5 separate regions of the Homo sapiens genome follow, and regions 2, 3, 4 and 5 are each linked to region 1. Evidence: promoter capture Hi-C in 16 types of primary human blood cells and fetal thymus (Javierre and others, 2016). All regions are on one chromosome and are shown on one strand. Each heading gives the region's core, a stretch centred on a gene start or on the middle of the fragment in contact. The rest is flanking DNA. Distances are from core to core; before and after follow the strand shown.

What was found. Contacts are between HindIII fragments. The CHiCAGO score rates a contact against its expected background, and 5 or more counts as called.
Region 2: a fragment that was not itself captured here is called in contact with the fragment with the promoter of GLRA1 in region 1 in 2 of 17 cell types (total CD4 T cells and naive CD8 T cells); the score reaches 5.4 in total CD4 T cells.
Region 3: a contact is called between a fragment that was not itself captured here and the fragment with the promoter of GLRA1 in region 1, in 1 of 17 cell types (naive CD8 T cells). The highest score is 6.2, in naive CD8 T cells.
Region 4: a contact is called between a fragment that was not itself captured here and the fragment with the promoter of GLRA1 in region 1, in 2 of 17 cell types (total CD4 T cells and naive CD8 T cells). The highest score is 5.6, in total CD4 T cells.
Region 5: a fragment that was not itself captured here is called in contact with the fragment with the promoter of GLRA1 in region 1 in 1 of 17 cell types (naive CD8 T cells); the score reaches 6.4 in naive CD8 T cells.

Annotation. Positions count from the first base shown.
Region 1 is chr5:151,923,553-151,926,154 of GRCh38, reverse strand. It overlaps GLRA1 (glycine receptor alpha 1), which reads left to right and starts at 1,304. Exons shown (of 9, transcript NM_000171.4): 1 at 1,304-1,661. The coding sequence starts at 1,606. RefSeq lists a silencer at 812-1,024. The HindIII fragment of the contact is 1,526 bases long and covers 491-2,016 here.
Region 2 is chr5:152,174,085-152,176,686 of GRCh38, reverse strand. All of the region lies in intron 1 of LINC01933 (long intergenic non-protein coding RNA 1933), which reads right to left. Among named protein-coding and RNA genes, the nearest start is that of LINC01933, 220 kb to the right of the region's middle. The HindIII fragment of the contact is 3,862 bases long and covers 1-2,602 here.
Region 3 is chr5:152,126,100-152,128,701 of GRCh38, reverse strand. The region is part of intron 1 of LINC01933 (long intergenic non-protein coding RNA 1933); the gene reads right to left. Among named protein-coding and RNA genes, the nearest start is that of LINC01933, 170 kb to the right of the region's middle. The HindIII fragment of the contact is 624 bases long and covers 976-1,599 here.
Region 4 is chr5:152,104,760-152,107,361 of GRCh38, reverse strand. All of the region lies in intron 1 of LINC01933 (long intergenic non-protein coding RNA 1933), which reads right to left. Among named protein-coding and RNA genes, the nearest start is that of LINC01933, 150 kb to the right of the region's middle. The HindIII fragment of the contact is 3,521 bases long and covers 1-2,602 here.
Region 5 is chr5:152,068,658-152,071,259 of GRCh38, reverse strand. All of the region lies in intron 1 of LINC01933 (long intergenic non-protein coding RNA 1933), which reads right to left. Among named protein-coding and RNA genes, the nearest start is that of LINC01933, 110 kb to the right of the region's middle. RefSeq lists a silencer at 289-529. The HindIII fragment of the contact is 6,897 bases long and covers 1-2,602 here.

The DNA.
Region 1 (2,602 bases), core at 55-2,554:
ACAACTTGGCTCTGCCATCAATTTGGAGCAAGCCACAGCTCTGTGAGGCTCAGTTTCCCCAGCATATAAAAGGCGAATAAAACTGTCTCCTGTCCAGTTGGAAGAAGGTGCTTTTATTCCCTCTCAAAAGGGTGCCAGCCACAACACCTCCCACTCAACGCTGGAAACTGCTCAAAGAATTTCTCTCGTATTTCCCTGCTGCGGTGACCCTGGAGGGGGTCTTTATCCACCAGACTTCTTTTTGGATATTCCTCCTTTCTTTCTAGGGCCAAATATTATAACTTCAGAGCTCTTTTAAAAAAAATCAGGGATCTGGTTCAACTCTTCCCTTTTAAAAGGATAAATTGAGCCCAGAGCACGTCTTAACAAGGAACCATGTGTTTTACTCACATACAACTGCATTCTTTAAAAATCAAGGCAACCTTTTGAGAGACCTAGAGAGATTAATTCCATATCCTCTCTCACCCCACCGCTTACACGGAAAGAAGCTTGGGGGTAGGAAGGGGATTGCGCAGATCTCGTCCAGCACTCTAAGCGTTAAATTCAACCCGGAGTCTAACAGGCTATTGGCCGAATACCGGGAGAAGATCTGGTTTTCGTAGCCGCGGGCCAATGAACACCTCGAGTGGGAGGGTTTGAAGATACTAAGGAGTTTTCCCCCTTTTTTTTTCCCCCTCAACCCCCTCCCATCGGCTATCACCCCTCCCATCCCCCACGCCTCCAGTTTGTTAAATTAATGCAGTAAGAAAGTCTGAAGATCTGAAGGAGTCTTGACCAAGGGAAGATGAGCGAGCTCAGAAAACCGAGATGCATCTGAGACATTGGGCTTCAGAGCCCCGCGGGGTAGCCAGGGACCCCGGTAGCCCCTGAAACTTGCCCTGGGCTCTCTGACGCCTGCGGCCCCGAGCAATGGGACACCTTTTCTGCAGTGATCACAACTTATTCGGCGGGGACCGGGAAACAGGAATAGCAAGGCGACAGCAGACCCGCACAGAGGCAGGAGAACGAGATTCCGAGACTGGATTGCGATGCGCCAGCCTGGCACACTCTCCGAGATTTAACTGAAGGCAGCGCCGTCAACCGCTTTCCCCTCGCCCCTAACCCCCTCAGGCCGGCCCAGAGCCATAAAGCTCTGTTCTCTTTACCCAAGATGCTCGCCCAATCCAACGGTCCGAGGCCAGCGCTCTGATCTCCACAGAAGATTTTTTTCCTTGCAGGGAGCTGGCCGTTTAAACAGAAAAACAGGGGTTTAAAAAAAAAAAAAAAAAAAAGGAAATATACCCACCCCCAAACGTGCCTCCCCAGCGCCGCAGGGAGCCAACAGACACGCTGGAGTTTAACAAACAGCAATACTCTTCGCGCTCCTGAAAAGCAGGTCTGGACGCTCTCCGTGGTGCTGAAACGCCTCGCAGCCGCCGCTGTCCGTGGTATCTACGACCCCCTCGCTCCAATTTCCCCTGGGGCTCTCCCTCCGCGCCCCTGTTCCCCGCCTCCCTTTAACATCTGGATTATTTTTTGCAATAGCGCTTTCTGGTTTTGTAAGTGCCAATTTGAAACATTTTTGCCCCCATAACTCGTGGACTACAAAGCACAAGGACCTGAAAAATGTACAGCTTCAATACTCTTCGACTCTACCTTTGGGAGACCATTGTATTCTTCAGGTATGCAATTTTCTACTGACCACATCGCTCTGATGGAAATGGGGGGAAAGAGTACGGAGGCTACCTCTGTCCGTGGTCCCATCATTTTGGGGAAGAGGGGTGCTGTATTCCACTGCAATCGGGTCCTTCCATCCCCCGTCTCCCTTCTCCCCCCTCCCACCCCCCGCCACCCACCCCACCCCCGCCCGCAGGGTGTCTGGCTTGTGCGTGGAGGTCTGAGACAGTCGCTGTTCTGGCAGCTGTTTGCCTGTTTCTTACGGTTTGTTTGTCCTTCTGTCTGCTACACCCCCCACTATTGGTCCCCAGCCCCACTGCATGTTGGCTTTCACTCGGCTGAGGACTTTAAAGGGAAGCTTTAGGAGTTACTCAGTTTAATTAGGACTGCATTCTCCCTAACCGCAGTGCCGAAAACCTCAGCTTTCCCGTCTGGGAGCCAAGTGACAACTAGCGGTGACGGGGAAGGTTGCACTCAAACTCGCTGGACACAGATCATTTCATTTTCTGTCCTTTTTTGCTGTTGTTTTCTTTTTCTGCGAAGAGGGAGGGGGATTACTAAGGCTGAGTGCTTGGAAACAATAGTATTATAACCTCAGTGTGTAAAGCCCTGAACTTGGGTGCAGAGTGGATCTATTTAGGAACATACTGGGAAACATTTCCCTTTTGAAACTTTGACTGCCTCTTTCCCCAACCCACCTTTCCAAACTCTGTTAGCTGCAGATCCTGAACTCATGAGCAATCTTCATTTGCTTTGTTTTTAAATTTATGCTTATATTTGACTCAACAGCTGAGTTATCCCATCCACTGTCTCTCAGGTTAAAATTTTCTGCCTGAAGACTTGTCTTTCTTATGTTAGTAGAAGTGAAAAGTGAAAAATCACCTCTTTAAGAAGCATTGAAATAGATAGTCCTTTAGTAAGTGTGTGAATCATACCATCTTCAGAG
Region 2 (2,602 bases), core at 58-2,557, 250 kb before region 1:
TTATTCTGAGGATTACATAAGTTGTTAATGAAAAAACAATTATTTCTGGCACATGGTATATAATTAATAATATTTTTCTATATGTATAATTTGTTCTGGGAATGTATACCTGTCCTCCCAGAACTTACTGTCTCTTGAAGGAGACAAGTAATTACAAGACAATGAGATCAGAGATGTAGTGGGATAAAGAAAGGGATAAAATGAGAGGGTACAGGACAAACCGTGAAGTCATAATGGGGAGGTCAAGGAAAGTTTCTAGGAGAATGTGAAGACTGAAATGAGATATAAAAGATCAGCCCATCAAAGAGTAGATCGGCCCAGGATTAAAAATCTCCAGTGTCAGAAAAGGTACAATCTGTGGAGAAACTGAAACTTCGATATGGTAACAAAACCAAAAGAGAAGATAATAACAATAATAGCCTGGAAGCTGTAAAGCAAAAAGAAAAGTGATAAATTCATTAGTAGACTCAAGAAAGCAGAATCCTAAGGTGGTGGTGGAGAAATGAATAAATGAACAAGTAAGCCACTCAGTTTACACTGAAAAAACACTCAGAGATTGGTGGTACCAGGACCTCTGGAAGGAAGCAAAGTTACAGCTGAACACAACAGGATAGGTTGCAAGTAAATTTAGGTAGTAGCAGAAACTGGCAAAATATTGACAAGTATTTAATTGGGGTTTATACTCTTCTCTCTACTTTGATATATGTTTAAAACCTTTCTTAATAAAATGTTTTGAAAGAGAAAAGTTAGGCCTCCAGATGTCTTCCTCTAATCTATATGGTTGCAAAATTGCCCCTAATCAACTTTGACAGAAAACTGAAAGTTTATTCTAAAAGAATGAATAAAACAAAGATCTCTGAATAGGAAGATATTGGGAAGAGTTTAAGAGGAGGGTATTACACACGCAACAAGGACACTAAGAGAGTAGTAATATCCTGACTACTGAGGCTCCTGTTTTCTCTGATTGGACTACCAAAACAATGACAGCAAAATCCTTCAGACAAGATTTTACCTGAAGAATCTAACCAGCTCAAAACACTCAAAGAAGCCAACATTAGGACTTCTCTCATAAATCTGAGCGATTAAAAAGTCAGGAAACAACAGATGCTGGAGAGGATGTGGAGAAATAGGAGCACTTTTCCTCTGTTGGTGGGAGTGTAAATTAGTTCAACCATTGTGGAAGACAGTGTGGTGATTCCTCAAGGATCTAGAACCAGAAATAATTTGACTCACCAATCCCATTACTGAGTATATACCCAAAGGATTATAAATCATTCTACTATAAAGACACATGCATACATATGTTTACTACAGCGCTATTCACAATAGCAAAAACTTGGAACCAACCCAAATGCCCATCAATGATAGACTGGATAAAGAAAATATGGCACATATACACCATGAAATCCTATGCAGCCATAAAAAAGGATGAGTTCGTGTCCTTTGCAGGGACATGGATGAAGCTGGAAACCATCATTCTCAGCAAACTAACACAGGAACAGAAAACCAAACACTGCATGTTCTCACTCATAAGTGGGAGTTGAACAATGAGAACACATGGACACAGGGAGGGGAACATGACACACCTGGGCCTGTTGCAGGGTGGGGGGCTAGGGAAGGGATAGCATTAGGAGAAATACCTAATGTAGATGACAGGTTGATAGGTGCAGTAAACCACCATGGCATGTGTATACCTATGTAACAAACTTATACATTCTACACATGTATCCCAGAACTTAAAGTATAATTTTAAAAAAGAAAAGAAAAATAAAGGATTGAGCTGATCCTGGAATGAGCCCAGTATTCGGTCAAATGGGAATTCTAGGCAGAAAAATCTTCAAAAGCAAAGGCCCAAGATATGAAAGAGCATGAAAGATTCAAGGACTTGTGCATGAGTCAACATTGATTCAACATGAGATACAAATGCAGAATTAGTGAGAAATGACCCTGGAGGAGAAATCAAGGCCAGACAAGGCTAAGGAATTAGATGCATTTATTGGTTTTTTGTTTTTGTTTTTGTTTTTGTGTGTGTGTGTGTAGGATGTAGACAAGTAAAGACTATTACAGACTTTTCATCAAATGCATTTTTTAGAACGATCACTGGCTGCACTTTGGAGGATGGACAGGAGGGCTAAGCAGCAGGCAGGAAACCAGGACAGGCAGCTTGGTCCATGTGGCAGGGAGGAGGGAGAGACAGTACATGCAGAGAAGGAAAGTCAATCAAGAGGCATGTAAGAGACAGAGCCTACACATGTAGAAAGCTGTTGGATGTGGAAGATGATGGCTGAAGAGTCTACAACAGTATCCAAGTATCCAGCTTGCGTTATATGTACTTGTAACCGAAGGTCTCTCTCTAGATCTTCTATACCATAGTTTTCTAACTTCAGGTCATAACCCATTAGTAGGTTGTGAAGTCAACTTACTGGATTGGAGCCAACATTTAAAAAAAGAAAATAGGAAAATAAATAAATAAAATAAAATAGTCCAATCTGATAACCTTAAAATGGAAACACACATGTACGTAAAACTTCCAATTAGTTTTTGTTCTCATCTTTAACTATGAGCAGAGCACCAAAGATGACTAGATATCTGAGGAGAGACC
Region 3 (2,602 bases), core at 38-2,537, 200 kb before region 1:
GAAGGATGGCCAAGCTGCATGGAGGATCCAAGGAAGATCACAAACCCCTAGAAATACTCACCGCATTATATTCCAGATTATCTCCACTCGCATAGATGGAGTACATGCAATCACTGCTACTCTCTGAGCCCATCTCTTTGAAATCAAAGGCACACATTTGCAAAAGAACTATCCCAGTTTATGGCAATCATGCTTAGCTATGAAAGAAGTTGTTCCTAAGAGATTCGTAATGAAGACTGAACGCTCTAACTTAGCCTCATCTACACAGTCCTCTACCCTCCTTAGATAACAACTTCACAGTAACTAGTTTCTCTCCCATTAATATTCTCCAGTGAACATCACTTGAAAATATTAGCTCTTCGCCAGCCAGCCACACCCACCCAAATGCACTGATATATAAAATAGGACCCTTGACTTAAGCAGATTCAGCCGCTATTCAGGAATAGGCCTACACTTCTCTTTAACTGGGTCCTTAAGCAGTCTTAAGATGCTGTTGACACTCTAGATCAAGGACTAAGATGCAGTCAGAAGTATTTTTTCTATCTCTGGACTGGCCCATAGACTTCTGTCTTTGAATTTATGGTATTCAGTACACTGTGACTTAAATGGAAAGGTTTGGTATTAAATCAACCAGTACGAACTCATTATCTATCTACTACATGACAGACACTATGCTAGGTGCTCAGGATGCACCCATATACATCACAGACATAGTCTCTCTTATTGTGATCCTTACAGTGTAGTGTGAAGAAAGTCAATCTTACTGATAAGGTCATCAGTGAAGAGGTCGTTAAGAGAGAAAGAGGATCTCCAGATTGGACAGTTGACATGAAAAAGTACACTTGGACTGGGATTGTAAGCTGGACCCAATGTTCTAAAATCCTTTAGCCCCATTTTTGACAGTATGAGTGATGATATTAGATGGCCTCCTAGCCATGAACAGTTTATTCATCCTACTCATCTCTGTGTCAAGCTTACAAAGGAAGTCTAATCCTTGGGTTGGGTGATGTCTCCTTATGAACTTATAGTAAAACTAGTGTTAAAAAAATTTCCAAACAAATATGGACTCCTACACTTAGAGAGGATTTTAGAGCCAATTTATTGCCCTTCTGGTGTTTGAATCTCTCATATAACCTTCTAAACAAGTAGTCATGCAGTCTCTGATTGAATACTTCCAGTAAGGAGTAACACTACCCCCAAAGATCACCTACCTTAACTCAAAATTTACTTTATGTTTAGGCCGGACGCAGTGGCTCACGCCTATAATCCCAGCACTTTGGGAGGCTGAGGCAGGTGGATCATAAGGTCAGGAGATCAAGACCATCCTGGCTAACATGGTGAAACCCCATCTCTGTTAAAAATACAAAAAAAGTTAGCCAGGCATGGTGGCGGGCCCCTGTAGCCTCAGCTACTCGGGAGGCTGAGGCAGGAGAATGGCATGAACCTGGGAAGCAGAGCTTGCAGTGAGCCGAGATCGAGCCACTGCACTCCAGCCTGGGCGACACAGTGAGACTCCATCTCAAAAAAAAAAAAAATTTACTTCATTCTTTGAATGGAATTTTGTCTTCCTGTGTCTTCTACCCATTTTATCCCTAAGCTTAAAAGGCACAGAAGCATCAGTTATACAAGACAAGCTTACAGGATTTGTGGGTAGGTGACGCCATTTACTAAAATCATTAGCACAGCTCTTAATCTTAGGCTTACTTATACACATTTCCAGGAGAAGCAAAGAATATACATTCTCACTATTACCATCAGCGAATGAAGAAACACGCTATGTGTGTATATGCTAAAACAAAATCAATTATAATGGAACGTTTGGAATAATGACTGTCTGGGAGAAAAGAACCAGAGGTTCTCACTTATCTGCCAATGTGACAGATGTGGCCTGTCTTTTGAGCCTAGCTCTCTCTGTCTTGCCCACTCTTCTTTCCTTTATTTAGTTCCTCACTCGATGAACCAACATGTACCAAATTATCTATCTCCTACATGCCAGGTACTAGGCTAGATGCTCAAAGTGAGGTGTATCGCTTCACTCTCCTGACCCACGCAGGCAGTCAGATCTCAAGATGCAGGTTCGGAACAGGAGGGAGAAAAATTCCCTTTAGATCTCAGGCTCATGCTGTGTACTCTCAGTTTGCTAGTGTTCTGCACTGGAGTAAAATGATGCCTGTTTTCTATTTAGCACAGTCTCTCGTAACTGTAAGTCCCTTAGGAGACACAAGGCATAAAGAATATGGATCAGAATGCAATGTAAACATTCCTGTATCCCCTAAGAAAATTCTATACAGCAAACTTTCCAATTCTATATTATCCCTTAACCAAATCCTTTATTATTGGAAGGCAGAGTAATTCTGAATCCAGGGCATTTCTTACACTCCAGTTTTTCCTCATCCCAGCTTCTGGTGGGTTTATGTCTTGAAAGTAAACCAACACGGAAAGAATTCTCACTGAGAATTCTATAAGCCACTGGAAGGCAAAGCTGTGCACATTCCAGTGGGGAACTAAAGAAAAACGGGTGCATTCTCCCCTACTTTACCCCTAGAGCCCTCACACAGTGGCAAAAGAATCAGTAATTGACAGAAGTGGAAACTGATTTCCT
Region 4 (2,602 bases), core at 30-2,529, 180 kb before region 1:
AGGCAGGAGGAATAGTGCCAAAGGCTTAAGATGCAGGGGGACAGTGATCCACCCACGCATGGGAGCAGACACCACACAAAGTGTGAGGGTTTTTGGAGTCCTTCTATGTGCATTGTATTAGATGGTTCCTATAGAAACCCTGCAAAGATTTCTCTTCTTAAAAGAGCAGGAAGCAAACTCAGAAAGGTTCAGTGATTTGCTCAAGGTTACACAGCAAACAAGATAGAAAGTGCTGGTTCTCAAGGCTAAGAATGCTGGTTTTTGCTGCGGCTTTTTACATTAATAAAAATAATCCCTGTTTATAACATATAAAACAGTCAAACATTAATGTCTCTGTGTTGGACACTTAGACACCTGCCCGATATCCATCCCTAACTTTTGTGTTACAAATGGAATCTCAGGTCTGCTCAGGGCAACAATGACCCCAGTCTGGAACAACAAATCATTGGTCTGAGACAGTTTTTCTCAAAATCTAGTGTATCTGAATCACCCAGAGAGCTTGTTAAAATACAAACTGCTGGGCCCACTTCCAGGGTTTCTGATTCAGTAGGTCTGGGGGATGGCGGGGAGTGAGAATTTGCATGTGTAACAAGTTCCTAGGTGATGGTGATGATGCTGGCCTGGAGGCCTCACTGGGAGAGCCACTGGCACACACTGATCATGACAGTCCTGGCTCCAGCTTGCTTGCAACCAGGTGTGGCTATGTCTCTCAGCACTTTCAGCACATAAAGAGAAGGCTACTGGGGACTTCAGGAACATTTTCCTTTCTCGATTAAAAAAAAAAAAAAAGGTAGGTATAGTTGATGCCACTATAACCTCTTTGTCCTGCTTTGTCCAGAGATGTGATGCCTGGGACTGCAGCAGACATTGTGTCCCTGAGACAACAAGACAACATTTTAGGGAGGGGTGGTGGCATAAAAGAAACATCTGAGTCATTCAGGACATAGTTGAGGCCCTGCGTTAGCCCTGGACAACCTATCTCCAAACTTCTTCCTATTTTAGGAACTTGAACAACCTTTATTGCTTAAGCATCATTAGGCAGGTACTCTGTTACCTGTAGATAAAAGCAATTATAACCTTTACAAAAAGTTTCTGCAAAACAATTTTTTTAAATAATCAAACAATGGCAATGAGTGCCTCCCAGTATGCAAGTCATCTTTATAATCATTGGTACATTTTGTCCTTAAAGGAACCATAACATTCGCTTATTTTTTTTTCTACTGGTAGGGATACCTGACCGAAAAAGTTTGAAATCCATTGCCAAAAAGCATGCTTTGAAAAATACTGTTCTTGGTATTAAATACCTTTTTAAAAAATTAATACTGAATAAAATATGTGGACCAGGAGAAAAATTTCCTGAAGATGTAGGGTTAATTTCAATTCCATCTTTACAGACCCATCATGCCTAATATGCAATAATTACCCCCACAGACTAGTTAGGCAAAATGAAACTCGACCTTCTGGACACATTTGTTACCAGATTAGAGAAATTACTAATTACTGTGTACTCCAAATGTGTTCCAAGAAACTGAAGTTCCATAAAATACTCCACCACAAAAAAAAAAAAAAAAACTTTGAGAAATGATGCAGAAGGTACAAAAATACATGTTAATATTAACAGCTCTAGGCCAGGCGCGGTGGCTCACACCTGTAATCCCAGCACTTTGGGAGGCTGAGGCAGGTGGATCACAAGGTCAGGAGATCCAGACCATCCTGGCTAACACGGTGAAACCCTGTCTCTACTAAAAATACAAAAAATTAGCCGGGCATGGTGGCAGTCGCCTGTAGTCCCAGCTACTCAGGAGGCTGAGGCAGGAGAATGGCATGAACCCGGGAGGCAGAGCTTGCAGTGAGCTGAGATCGTGCCACTGCACTCCAGCCTAGGCAACAGAACGAGACTCCATCTCAAAAACAAAAATAAAATAAAAAATAAAAAAAAAAATTAACAGCTCGGAGAAGTCCTGTGGTAGAAAAATTATATTCTGTCTGATGAAGCCTTTCCTAAACTTACTTGTTCACAGAACACTTTCCTCCTTGATACCCACTACTCCCTTTCAAAACACTTGAAAAAAATGCTGACTTAATAAAATGGTAGTCAAGACTATCTTTTGGCATAAACAGAGCATGGTAGAAAGCTGTAAGTACTGCTGTTGATCTACTTGGGTTCAAATCCCAGCTCTGTCATGTACAGTCACTGATTCTAAGGTGCATATTTTTTCACATTTATCATTTCTTAAAATCAGTTACATGTTTTAGTTTTATTAGCAGCATTTTTTAGTGTAAACAAAGTAATGGTACATCTTATAATTAATGCACCATTAGTTATTTAGCAAGATATTTAGACTTGGTAAAATACAGTACATGACTTTGAGCTAGTCACTTAACCACTGTGCCTCAGTTTCCTCATTGGCAAAAGGGAAAGATTACTGCATAGAGTAGATGTGTAAGTTAAATTGTTCCTGGCACAATGTAAGTGCTCAGCAAATGTTAGCTATCCTGATTAATTATTTCAGGAACACTAAAAGGACACTCCAAATCACTCATTCACTTATTTTTTCATTCTTTCTTGTAAGTCATAAAATGCAAATACTTCAGGGAGAGA
Region 5 (2,602 bases), core at 71-2,570, 150 kb before region 1:
GTGGACAAGGACATAAACCACAGTCTGTGTTCTACCCTCCTAGCCAAGCCTCACCCCCTCCAAGAAGCATCCCTTTATCTGTTGTATACAGAGTTCATTAAAAAAGAAAGGGTTATTCTGTTAAGTAAGAGTTAAAGATTTCTGCCCTACCCCTAGAAGGTTCTCATACAGAATACTTCACCCCCAACTCTATGGATATCCAAGTCAGGCTATACAGGAGTTGTTCCCACAAAGGAAGATTCAATCCCATATTCTCAAAGCTAGTTCTCATCAGTGGACAATCAAGAGGCCCACGGACCTCTTGATTAGTGGGCCTGAGCTGGAGACAGCAGGTTTTGTTTTGCCCAGCCAAGTAGTCAGCACTCCTAGCATCCACTCAGTGCTGCCCAACCTGGGGAGTGAAAGCTACAAAGTCAACTTGAGCTGCTTGGTAAAAATCCCATGTACCAGAAGATAAGACTGACAAAGAAGCAAAGTTAATCTTGGAGCTCTCAGCATGATCAGTGAACCAGCCTTTGCCTAGGAGTTACCGCAAGCAGAGCTGTGTGTTGAGTGTGATACAAGATAGAGGAACCAGTAAGCAAAAGGCTACCACCAGCCCTGTGGGAAATTCAGGTAGAGGCAGGTAATCCAGGCAGGGGTTCAGGCACAGGGCACCAGGCAGAGAAAAGTTTCAGAACCAAGTCTCCAAAGTAGGTGTGGGAATAGGTGCCATACCATGTCACTTTAGGGCCTGGGTTCATGTCATTTGAGCCTAAGAGTAGGTTTGGCCCTCACCATGAAGATGAAGCTGAGATCCAAAAGGATTTTCCAGGGTTGAGGGCAGGGCCACCTTATTTATTGATGTGTCTCCAACATCTGGCAGAGTATCTGGCTAGTGTGTACAGACTGAGTTTTTTTGAAAAAACAGAAGGAAGCAGGTCCTGGACGTCAACCCAGGAGTTGATCATTATGGTAATTTTGGCCATTATTAATTGAGCATTTACTAAGTGTCAGCACGGTGCTAAGTACTTCACACCCAGAATGATTCTGAGAGGAATGTATTACAATCCTCACCTGGCATTTGAGCAAATTATGGCTTAGCAATGTAAATAACTTGCATAAAGACACCAGGCCAAGAGATGGTGGAGCTGGGTTTCGACTTCAATTCTCTGATTTAAGCATCTGAGCTTTTAACTGTCATATTTTTCCGTCAACTCACTGAAATAAGTTACAACTAAGGAATGAGTAGCTTTTGTGTAGAAAGAGGAAAGAAAGGCTGCTTTTCCTAGGGATTCAAAAAGCACAGGACTAGATAGAAAATGGGAATGAATATAAGGAATTATCTCTGATTCAACTTCACCATTTCCTCCCAAAGAAGACTTCCCTGATTCTCCTTACAAAGTAAGGTTCCCCTGTAACACACTTTGAGCACCCCTCCATTCTTTGTAGCCCTTACTACCATTTTAACGAAACAAGCAACGGTGAATGGAGTTGTTTAAATGTTTGTCTCTCCTTATGGATCATAGGTCCATGAGGGAAGGTGCTGTGACTATCTTGCTCCTGCTGTACCCTAGTGTGCAATACAGTGCCTAGCATATAGTAGGGCTCAGTAAGTATTTGAACATGTGAGTTATATAACTGGTTGATAGATAATGGGATAAAAAGCATTCTAATGGCATATACTAAGGAGTAATAGGAGATGAAGACAAATGGAAAAAGATTAAGACGTTACTTGAAGACCCTGGAGAAAAGCCTCATGTTGATGTTGCAGGTAACAGGGAACTACTGTAGTCCCTTGAGCTTCTCTGAATAAGGAAGACTAATAATATTGAGATGAGAAATAAATCAGCTCAGGGAGAACTGATGCTCTACCCCGAATATTATGAATACTCCAAACAGGACCAGTGCTTGAGGTGGCAAGGGTCTCATGATGGTAGCAGTGAGAATGCAGAGGAAGACATAAATCAAGGGGACATATGGATGCAGGTTCTTCCCGGAACGTTTCTCATCAAAAGTTAATAAGCAGGTAGGGACATACATCTGGGTTGGTGGAAGACACAGGTGGCGATCAGACTTGGCCGGCTCTATAAACTCTCTTCCACCCATAGAAGATTACATTTTACTGAAACTCAGGTGATGTCAAAGAGGGACAGAAAATATATTCTGTTATCATTCGTTTCTAAGTCTTATGCATGACCAGCCAGGAGTAAAAAAGAATATGTTTCTTAAGGTTCTCAGAAGGCTCAGAGCCATTTCCCAATGAATCATTTACTTATCCACATCTCTAAACCTACAGTTCTAGATCATTGACTTTGGAGCAGGAGTACTCCTAGGGCAAGCCTCTAATCACCATACCCCTTTCACTCTTGAATCAAGAGGGAGCCATTTAAGCAGCAAGCCTTCCAGTTAAACTCTTAAGTTGCTTGCTTGTCATGCAGAAGACCTGGGTTCAAGTCCCAGCTTTGACATTTATTAGCAGTTAATCACCATGCACATTAGCTAGTGATATACAAAACACCACTTAGAGATCAATGAACTAGAGCAATGGTACAGAAACATGAATCGGGCCGGGTGCAGTGGCTCACACCTGTAGTCCCAGCATTTTAGGAGCCTAAGGCAG